Linked DNA regions of Homo sapiens: region 1 is linked to region 2. The links are contacts of gene promoters, found by promoter capture Hi-C in blood cells and fetal thymus (Javierre and others, 2016). All regions are on one chromosome and are shown on one strand. Each heading gives the region's core, a stretch centred on a gene start or on the middle of the fragment in contact. The rest is flanking DNA. Distances are from core to core; before and after follow the strand shown. Region 1 holds the start of ZNF17 (zinc finger protein 17). Region 2 holds the start of ZNF583 (zinc finger protein 583).

What was found. The method cuts DNA at HindIII sites, captures the fragments that hold promoters and counts their contacts. A CHiCAGO score of 5 or more calls a contact.
Region 1: the fragment with the promoter of ZNF17 here is called in contact with the fragment with the promoter of ZNF583 in region 2 in 3 of 17 cell types (neutrophils, total CD4 T cells and activated CD4 T cells); the score reaches 8.4 in neutrophils.

Annotation. Positions count from the first base shown.
Region 1 is chr19:57,407,423-57,412,506 of GRCh38, reverse strand. It overlaps ZNF17 (zinc finger protein 17), which reads right to left and starts at 1,346. Exons shown (of 4, transcript NM_001330617.2): 1 at 1,101-1,346. RefSeq lists a silencer at 647-849 and enhancers at 1,093-1,152, 1,233-1,342. The HindIII fragment of the contact is 5,033 bases long and covers 172-5,084 here.
Region 2 is chr19:56,401,088-56,406,013 of GRCh38, reverse strand. It overlaps ZNF583 (zinc finger protein 583), which reads right to left and starts at 1,682. Exons shown (of 5, transcript NM_152478.3): 1 at 1,562-1,682. RefSeq lists a silencer at 1,449-1,658 and an enhancer at 2,119-2,258. The HindIII fragment of the contact is 8,045 bases long and covers 1-4,926 here.

The DNA of each region.
Region 1 (5,084 bases), core at 97-2,596, 1.0 Mb before region 2:
CGCCACTGCACTCCAACCTGGGCGATGGAGCGAGACTCTGTCTCAAAAAAAAAAAAAATGTTTTACACATTCATAAATAAATAAGTTGCAGGGAGGGGATAAGCAAGCAGGTCAGTTACTGGTCCCATCAGCAACCAGGCCTGCCTGCTACAAATTCAGTTGCTGGAAGCTTGCTGGAGGCCCTTGACTAGATGTGAGAAAGCCCTACCCCCGTCTGGACCCAATGTCCCCACTAGTCTGGATGACCTTCCTATTGTTCCACAGAGTGGGCCTGGGGGGCTGCTGGGTCTGCAGGTGCAGAAATCTAAACCACCTCACACCTCAGTCTCCAGCCTAGGCCAGTTCCTTAACCCATTCAGAACTCCGTTTTTGCAGATATGAGCCAGAATCCCTCCTATGACAGGTCTGCGCCTTTCTAAAGGTAGCGTCAGGCTTATGGACCCACCCATGATCTGCCCTCCAAAACTCAGCCCTCCAAAATGCAACTCATAATCCTCTCTGAAACCTGCTCCCTAAGCTGACTTCTCCAACTCCATTCTTTCAGATTTTCAGGCCAAAACAAAATCCATGGAATAGACCCTTCACTACCCTCACTGCTACATTTGATGCAGCAGGAAATCCTGTCGACTCTATCTCTGAGATCCATCCAGAATCTCATCACACTTCCCCTCTACTGCAACCCCTCTGGCCCATCCCTACCATAACTCAAGGGGTCTCCTCAGCGGTCCCCTTGTCCTGGTTTAACATCCTGTTTTTCCCAACTTTAAACGTCTACCTCTGGGCATAACCCTTCCTGCACAGCCTTCTACGGCTTTCAGCAGCTCCGCTGCCCTCCCAGGCGAGACTCCGCCTCACCCTCAGCTCCGTGGAGACAAAGACGCTCGGGCTCCCCAGTGCCGCCCGCTCTGCAGCACCTCTAAGCCTCGCACGTGCAGGTCCCTGACAGGAGCTCCCCCGCCTCACAGCACCGCGGACACCGGTACCCCACACAAGAACGCTCCTCTCTTTGGGACACAGGGGCCTGACCTGCAGGGCCCCTCCTCGGGGCTTCGGCACTCGGAGGAGGGATCGGGCGGGGCGCCCTGGGACGCGGCACCCACCTCAGTCAGGTTCATCGGCGCAGCCTCCGCCAGCACAGCCAGGGAAGAGCGGGGCGGGAGCGGCAGTGACCTGGACGCTGACAGAGGCACCAACGCCTGCAACCGATTCAACCGAGCCTCACTCTAGCCTCTGTACAACGGGGAAACCTTTTCTCGCGTTTTTCCGCTTTTTCACCTCAGTCTCGACTCAGCCTGAAGGTGAACAGATCCCAACGCAGCCATATTGACAACCCCAGGAGGCGTTGCAGGAAGTCCCGCCCACACGCATTGCGAACCCCCGTAGACGCCGCTCTGCTAGGCCTTCATTGGCTACACTCGCTGCTTGTGTCCGCCGCTGTGTCTTTTGGGTAATGTAGTTCCCAGGCCACTGCCTGCCCCGCTTCTGAACTTAAGTTAACTCGCGTTCAGGATGAAAGCCAGGAGGATCCTCCTGAGGCTTTGAGAAATGCAGTTGCGGGGCTCCAAGGACGTGGAGGGGCTTCATTGGCTTTTAAACGGCAAGCATCCAGATTTTCCCGGAAGGCAGTCTAGAACAAGTCAGAGAAATGTTTCAGAGACCTGTCCTTTCAGATTCTGTAAAGCACAGCAAGTTCCCAAAAGACGAACATCCGAAGGAACATGGCCAACCATAAAGAACTGGTCTTCCACGCATAGCGGTCAGCTCTTTTGTGCTTGCCAAATACACACAGAACGAAGCTCTGGAGACTGTTTTATGATCTTCAATGTGCTCTGCTGGGCACATTGAAAAGACCCAGACATGGCATGATGGGGAGTTTGAGGAGTAATATCTTTCCTTTCTGAATAATCAGTTATTGTCTTTCAGCCTACCCAGCAACACTTTATTCACATGATACTTATTACTTTATATCTGAGATATTTTCCACTTATTTTAAGAGACTGAAACCTAACTGAAAAGGAAAAGCGACTTATCTACCATTATCTGCCAGAATAGTGTGGCCTTCCACCAGTCAAAGCCCTTGTGCAAAGAAAGCATCTTACTCCTGAGATAAAGGTTTGGGAATGCATGATCTCATCTCATTAGTGGAAAGTGATTTATCATTTCGCCTGAAATTGTATCAACAGTGTCTGCACAGGGAGTTGAAATTGTCTCTGAATAACTCTTGTGAAATGGCTATTACTGAAACTATTAATGACGATTATGTAGATATCCAAAGAAAGTGGCAAAAATAGTTATAGAGAAACATATTTGTGATAGGAGGAAAAAAGCTAAGGTTGTCCTGGAACCTTGGACACACTCAAGTTTGGTGTCCAAAATCTGATTCTTTTTCAAACTTGAAAACATTGTGCATTAACAGCTTGAAGGGAGAGGTAAAGACTATATATTAAAAGAGTTACCAGAAAAGTAAAGCTGAATAGGGAAACTGTGCTGTCGTATTTATTACTCTAACATATTTGATGAACACTCATTCGATGCCAGGTACAATACTAAGTGCATGGGACACATTAGGAGTAGGGTTGCTAGCTGTCTGTGGTCCTCTAAGACACGTAAGACGTATTTAATGAATTAGTCCTCAGTCCTGTATTGACCTTGTCAGGTCACTTTAAATGTCCTGTATTCCGCTTTTTACAATAAATTACAAAACCTCAGAAGTTAGAGCTATTTTTCTACCACTATAATTGTAAATTAAATCACTTAGCAGCTATGTTAGCTGAAAATCATACCCCCACAAATAAAGATATGGACATAGTCTTGTGATCTCTCCTGCAGAATTGGTGAGGGAAAAATAAAATGGAGCACTGAGATATTCAGTAAAGGAGAAGACTGTTTTTTGGCCAAAGTCTTGAAATTTGGTTTATCAAATTACAAAAAGAAGGAAGGAAGGAGAGAGAAAGAAGGAAACGAAAGGAAAAGAAAAAACCACCCAACTGAAGGTCTGGAAGAGTTAAAGCTGTTCAGTAGTGCCAGCTACATGGAAGTTAAGACGGGAGGATTACTTGAGTTCATAAGTTCAAAACCAGTTTGGGCAATATAGTGAGATCCCCGTCTCTGAAAAAACTGAAAATTAAAAACATGTTAATCATTTACCAACAATACATCCCTACCATCCTACAATTCTATTTCTAGATATTTACCAACAGAAACTAAACAAACTTTTTTTTTCTTTTTTTGAGATAGAGTCTCTCTCTGTCGCCCAGGCTGGAGTGCAATGGCACGATCTCGGCTCACGGCAACCTCTGCCTCCCAGGTTCAGGCGATTCTCCTGCCTCAGCCTCCTGAGTAGCTGGGATTACAGGCATGGCCACCACGCCTGGCTGATTTTTGTACTTTTAGTAGAGACGGGGTTTCACCATGTTGGCCAGGCTGGTCTTGAACTCCTGGCCTCAGGTGATCCACCCGCCTCAGCCTCCCAAAGTGCTGGGATTACAGGCATGAGCCACCTCGCCTGGCCCAAACATCCATCTAACACTTGGTGACAGGCCACATATCTTTGTGTATGTGTATGTATATATATATATATATATGGAGAGAGGGAGAGAGAGAGAGTCTCGCTCTGTTGCCCAGGCTGGAGTGCAGTCACACGATCTCAGCTCACTGCAACCTCTGCCTCCTGGGTTCAAGCAATTCTCCTGCCTCAGCTCCCGAGTAGCTGGGACTACAGGTGTGCACCACCACACCTGGCTAATTTTTGTATTTTTAGTAGAGACAGGGTTTCACCATGTTGGCCAGGCTGGTCTTGAACTCCTGACCTCATGATCCACCCGGCTTGGCCTCCCAAAGTGCTGGGATTACAGGCATGAGCCACCATGCCCAGCCCTTTCAACATATTTTATTAGGTGTTTCGCTACCTTTTGAAATTCCACTTTCATGTAATGAGCGGCTGTATGGTGACAATGGCCCAGGAGGCTCTGGACAGTGAGTGGACATTCTCTCCTTATGTCCCCACAAGGACCTCGTCTTGTTCAATGTTCCGACGTGTTTCCACTCATTCCTGTTCCTCACACTTCATCACCCCACCACTTGTAGACAACAATTCTAAAGGTCTGTTGTGTGTTTTTGTATTTACATGTGTTTTAGAAAGAGGAGCACTGTTACTTTTTGTGTAGTTTAATTGTACTGTACTATAGACTTCTTTCTCCCTTTGTTGGTACTCAAAATGTGTGTTTAATATGTATATATACTCCTGTGTCAAAGTCTACTTAAATGCTAGTAACTGCCCTGTTGTACTTTAGTGTGGACATTCAGTCTTCTACTTCACTCATAGATGTCTTTGGTCCTCCTCTTACACTTAATGCTACAACATATTGTCTCCATGTCCCTGCTGCCTTGAACAGTATTGTGAGAAAACTTCTCTCACATAAGAATTTATGGACTTGACTGAGAGATATACCAGAAACAGGCTTTCTGTGTCACATGATATTCTAGAAAATCATTTTTTTTACAGTACCTGTGCAGATTGCTTTATGAAACTGCTACAGTCTTTGACTCTTCCATGAAATATACATGATTGCAGCTACATCACCCCATATTTCTTTCCATAGTATAGTAATTTATAGAACTTAAAGTAACATGCAATAATATCTAATTTGCATTTCTCTGACACCGAGTTTGAATATCCATTCATATTCTTGATAACCATCTGATTTTTCTCTCTTGTTTATTGTATGCTCGTGCTTTAGTTCATTTCTAAGATCTCTGACTTTATTCCTTTAAGAAGAATCTGAAACTTTGGCTGGGCACAGTGGCTCATGCCTGTAATCCCAGTACTTTGAAAGGTGGAGGTGGAAGGATCATTTGAGTCTAGGAGTTCGAGACCAGCCTGGGCAGTATAGTGAGATCCCCGTCTCTACCAAAAAAGTTAAAAATTAGCCAAGCATGGTAGTGCGCACTTGTAGTCCCAGCTACTGGGGAGGCTGAATGGGAGGATTGCTTGAACCTGAGAGGTGGAGGCTACTGTGAGTGAAGATCACGCCACTACACTCCATCCTAGGTGAAAGAGACCCTGTCTCAATAAAAAAGCAAAA
Region 2 (4,926 bases), core at 433-2,932:
GCAGACCTCACTGCCTTGAAGAATAAAGCCATTACCTATGAAGTGGCATAACTCAGTGGTAAGAACTACTAGGCTTAAGGATCAGAACACCTGGTCTCAAACAGCCAAACCACCACATGCTACCTATACAACCTCTGGCAAGTTAGGTAACCACTGCAAACCTGTTTCTCTATCAGTGAAATGGTAACTATTCCCTATCAATTGTTGGGAGGATTCTGAAATGATCTACATAAAGCATTGAGCACAGTGCTTAATTTTCATCTTTCTGTCATTTATTTTCATAACCAGCACATGGTAGGTCTCCCATTCCTTTTTCCTTTTAAATTCCTCACGTGCCCCCAGAGACTGAGAGGGATGGAAAAACTACTGTGCCAGAGGACAAGCAGCCAGCGTGGTCAGCTTTTCAGGCTTAAGGCTGAGGCTCCTGTCTGTCTCTCCCTTTTCAGCTCTCGTCCCTCCCTTTCTCCATCTTTTCCCCTTTATCTCAATCTTTCTGTCTCTCCACCACAACAGCAGTCTCCCAAACCCCAGAGCACACCAGCATCTCCAAGCACCCACACAGCTTCCTGCCCACACAAATCACAGACAACAAACCACATAGTTTCTCATTCTGGCACCTCCCCTGGCAACCTATGGACATGCCCCCACATTGTAGCCCGCCCTGCTCTCACAATGGGTCATATAAGGCCATTCTCAGTCACACTGTCACACTCACTGTCGGGATGACATACAGTGCTAAGTCACACCATCTCCCTCAGTCTCACATAATCACACACACTGTCATGCACAATCTCAAACACTGTCACATACAATCTTAGTCCAACAACAAAAACTCTGTTCACATACAGTTTCACATACAGTGACACAGTCTCACACACTGTCACACAAATTCTGTCGCAGTTTCATGTGGTCCCATATCAACAGCCACACACCGTACACAACCACACATAGCCTCACACACGGTGACATGGTCTCACATACTGTCACAGTCTCATCTAATCCTACACACACGGTCAAGCTCTGTTCACAAAGTCACACACACTGTCACACAGTCTTACATTATCCCACACACACAGGTCACACACACAGTGACATGGTCTTACACACTGTTCACACGTGGTCTACACATAATGACAGTTTAACACTGTCACACATTCCCAGTCTCACACATGGTGACGTGGTCTTAAGCACATACAGTGTCACACAGTCCCACACGGTCCCATATACTGTCAAAGGCTCCCGCATACACCGGGGCAACGGTCTCATACTGTCGCACACATTCTCACACCCAGTCTCATACTGTCACACATAGTCCCACATTTGTCCCACATGGTCTCACACTGACACACATATTCACACACGGCCTCACATTCTCACACTGTCACACACGGTCTCAAATTCTCACACAGTCACACATGGTCTCACACACGATTCCACACTGTCAAACACATTGTCACACACGGTTCCTTAATGTCTCACACATTCTCACACACTGTCACACACGGTCCCACACATGGTGGCATGGCCGCTCCCGGCGTCAGCTCCATCCCGCGCTCCTCACCGCCTCCTCCCTCCAGTGGGCACCTCCTTCGGCGCGGTCCTTGGAGGCCGGGGCTGGGCCAGGGCCCGGGCCAGGGCTCGATCCTGGCCGGCGGCCGCGCTCACAAAGGCGCCGCAGCCCTAGGGCAGGCCGCAGGGGCCGCTGGGAAATGGAGTCCGGGGCCGGCGCGGCGCAGAGGATGCTGGGATGTTGGCCGAGGGCCCCGGGCGGCCGCAGATCCCGCCGCTCAGTTGCGGGTAGTTACTGCTGCGCCCCTTTCCCTAGTAAGCCCACCTCCGCTGGCCTTCAGAATCCCACCCGGACCAGCTGAGCCCTCTCAGGCCGTTCGACTGTCCGCTCCCCCACCCGTTCCACCCGTTCCACCTGCGCAGGCGCAGCTGGTTCAGGTCCCCAAAGGCTGCCAGGCCGGGGTGCCAGCGCGGTGAGGCGCACGCGCAGTGACCGCGTCCGCGCTCCAGCGCTCCGGGTGGGGCTGTGAGTCCATCGCTGAGAAAAGGGAGCTGGAGGACCAGTGTGGAGCCTGAGCCAGCTGGAGAGGGGCCCGGTAGGATGTACGTGTGATTAAGCGCTCTGGCGGCCCGGGCTTTCTCTTTCCCTTTCTGTTTCTTCTCTCTCCGCCTTGCCCTGTCTTTCATTCGCCACTTATTGAGCGCCTGCTGTATCGGGCACTGTCGTGGGCCCTGGGCACACAGCAGTGAACAAGCAGACAAAATCCCCACCTCATGGAGCAGCATTCTAATGCGGGAGGAATTCAATAGGAAAAAATTAATAATAAAGGACACTGATGCATATTGGGAAGTAATGCGTATTATCAAGAAAAGCGAAGCAGAGTATTAAGATCATTCTTTCAGTTCTTCATTCTTTCAGTTATGCCCTCTGAATCAGTGGAAAAAACGCAAGGTGCATTTTTTTCTATTATCTCAACGACAACTAATCATAACAGAAGACTTTTCTGACCAAATATAGGGGAGTTTCCCACACATCTCAAGCAAGCAATGAGTTCAGTGAGTTCTGCAGCGGGCACCAGCTGGGTGTCCTCCAGTTTAATTCCGACGCCGTCTACTTGGAGATGGGTCAGACACCATTCGCTGAGGGCTCAGTCCCCAAGCCTGCCTCCCCCTTCCCACTTCCCACTAAAGTCTAGCCTCTGGAACATCTGACTCCACCACCTTCAAATTGGGATTTTCACCACCCCCTCTTTGCGGTTCGATATTTTGCTAGAGTGGCTCACGGAACTCAGGAAACACTTATGTTTACTAGTTTATTATAAAGGATATTACAAATGATATAGATGAAGAGATGCGTAGGGCAAAGTACAGAAAAAAGGGTGTTGCACCTTCCAGTAACCTCCACATGTTCAGCTGGGTGGAAGCTCTCTAAACCCTGTCTTTTGGGAGTTTTACAGAGGCTTCATTACATAGGCATGGTTGATTAAAATCCCGTCCCCTCCTTAGGGTTGGGGGTGGGGTTGAATGTCCCAACCTTCTAGTCATGTCTTGGTCTTTCCATAACCAGTCCCCATCCTGAAACTCTATAGGGGTTGCCAGCTGTCAACTCATTAGCATACAAAATGAGTTTTTACTGTTACTTTGTAGTTTCTAAGGATTTTAGAAGTTCTATGCTAGGAAGATCAAATATATATTTCACAATATCATACTCTTATTCCTATTCTTCAATCTGTCTTTGAAAATATTTTATAAACTCCTATCTCTAGTTTATCTCCCAATCCTGTACCATCCCTTCCAAAATCCTGTTGTGCCCTTCAATTGCTTCATTTAATTGTCTGACCAAAGTTGCCAGTGACAAAGAGCATCATATAAGCTGGGAATTTTATTTGAGGAAATTAAACAAACGCAACTATGATATCAGCAAAAAATACTAACTGAAACTTTTTTTTGAGACGGAGTCTTGCTCTGTCACCCAGGCTGGAGTGCAGTGGCGCAATCTCAGCTCACTGCAAGCTCCACCTCCCAGGTTCATGCCATTCTCCTGCCTCAGCCTCCCGAGTAGCTGGGACTACAGGCACGTGCCACCACGCCTGGCTAATTTTTTTGTATTTTTAGTAGAGACGGGGTTTCACCTGTTAGCCAGGATGGTCTCAATCTCCTGACCTCCTGATCTGTCTGCCTCAGCCTCCCAAAGTGCTGGGATTACAGGCATGAGCCACCGAGCCCAGCTGAAACATTGTTTATAATAAAATGTTGAACATAAACAATATACCTACTGTCATGGGTAGCAACTAGATAGGGCTTGTATCAAAGGCGGTAAAGAAAACAGTCTCATATTTACCAGGACAGTCCTAAAGAAAGGCAGATTTATTAGAGAACGTATGAAAATACATTGCAAGGTTGCAACTGGCAGCACAGGAGAGAAGGAGCTGTCTGCAAAGAGGCAGGAGCTGGAAGGAAGTTTTATAGGGTCATCCTGGAGAGAGCTGTTGTTTGATTAGCCATTTCTCAGGACAACTGTTCATTGTACTTCCCCACTGGGGCCCCTTCCTCATTGTTGCTTACTTATCAGGACTCCACAGCTACAAGTAGAAGAATGGTCAAATAAATAACAGTATGTTGTAAACCAAAAGGTATTGGAGACAGGTCTCAATCGATTTGGAAAGTTTATTTTCCCATGGTTAGGGAAGCACTGACAGTCTCAGGACGTTCTGATGACATGTGCCCAAGGTGGTTGGGGTACAGCTTGCTTTTATACATCTTAGGGAGATATGAGACATCAATCACTATGTGTAAGATGTACAGTGGTTCAGTCAGGTAAGGTGGAAAAATCTGAGGTGGAGGCTTCCAGGTCATAAATAGATGTGGGACAAAAGGTTGCATTCTTTTGAGTTATTGATTAGCTTTCCACTGAATACACAATTTAGTCTGGCTCTGTGAATTTGCATTTTTACATAAACACTAGGTCCAAGGAAGCAATCAGATATGCATTTCTCTCAGGTGAGCCTCAGAGGGATGACTTTGAATTCTTTCTGTCCTTTGTCCAAAAGGAATTTCCTTGTGGGCAAATTGTGAGGGAGGTATGTAGCTTTTAATCTTTATAGCTATTGTATTTAGGAATCAAATGAGAGGCAGCCTTGCCTGACATAGTTCCCAGCTTGACTTTCCCTTGGCTTAGTGATTTTGGAGTCCTTAGATTTTTTTTTTTTTTTTGAGACAGAGTCTCGCCCTGTTGCCCAGGCTGGAGTGCAATGGTGTGATCTCTGCTCACTGCAGCCTCCGCCTCCCGGGTTCAAGCTATTCTCCTGCCTCAGCCTCCCGAGTAGAGTAGCTGGTATTACAGGTGCACACCACCACACCCACTTAATTTTTTTTTTTTAATCTTTAGTAGAGACGGGGTTTACCATGTTGGCCAGG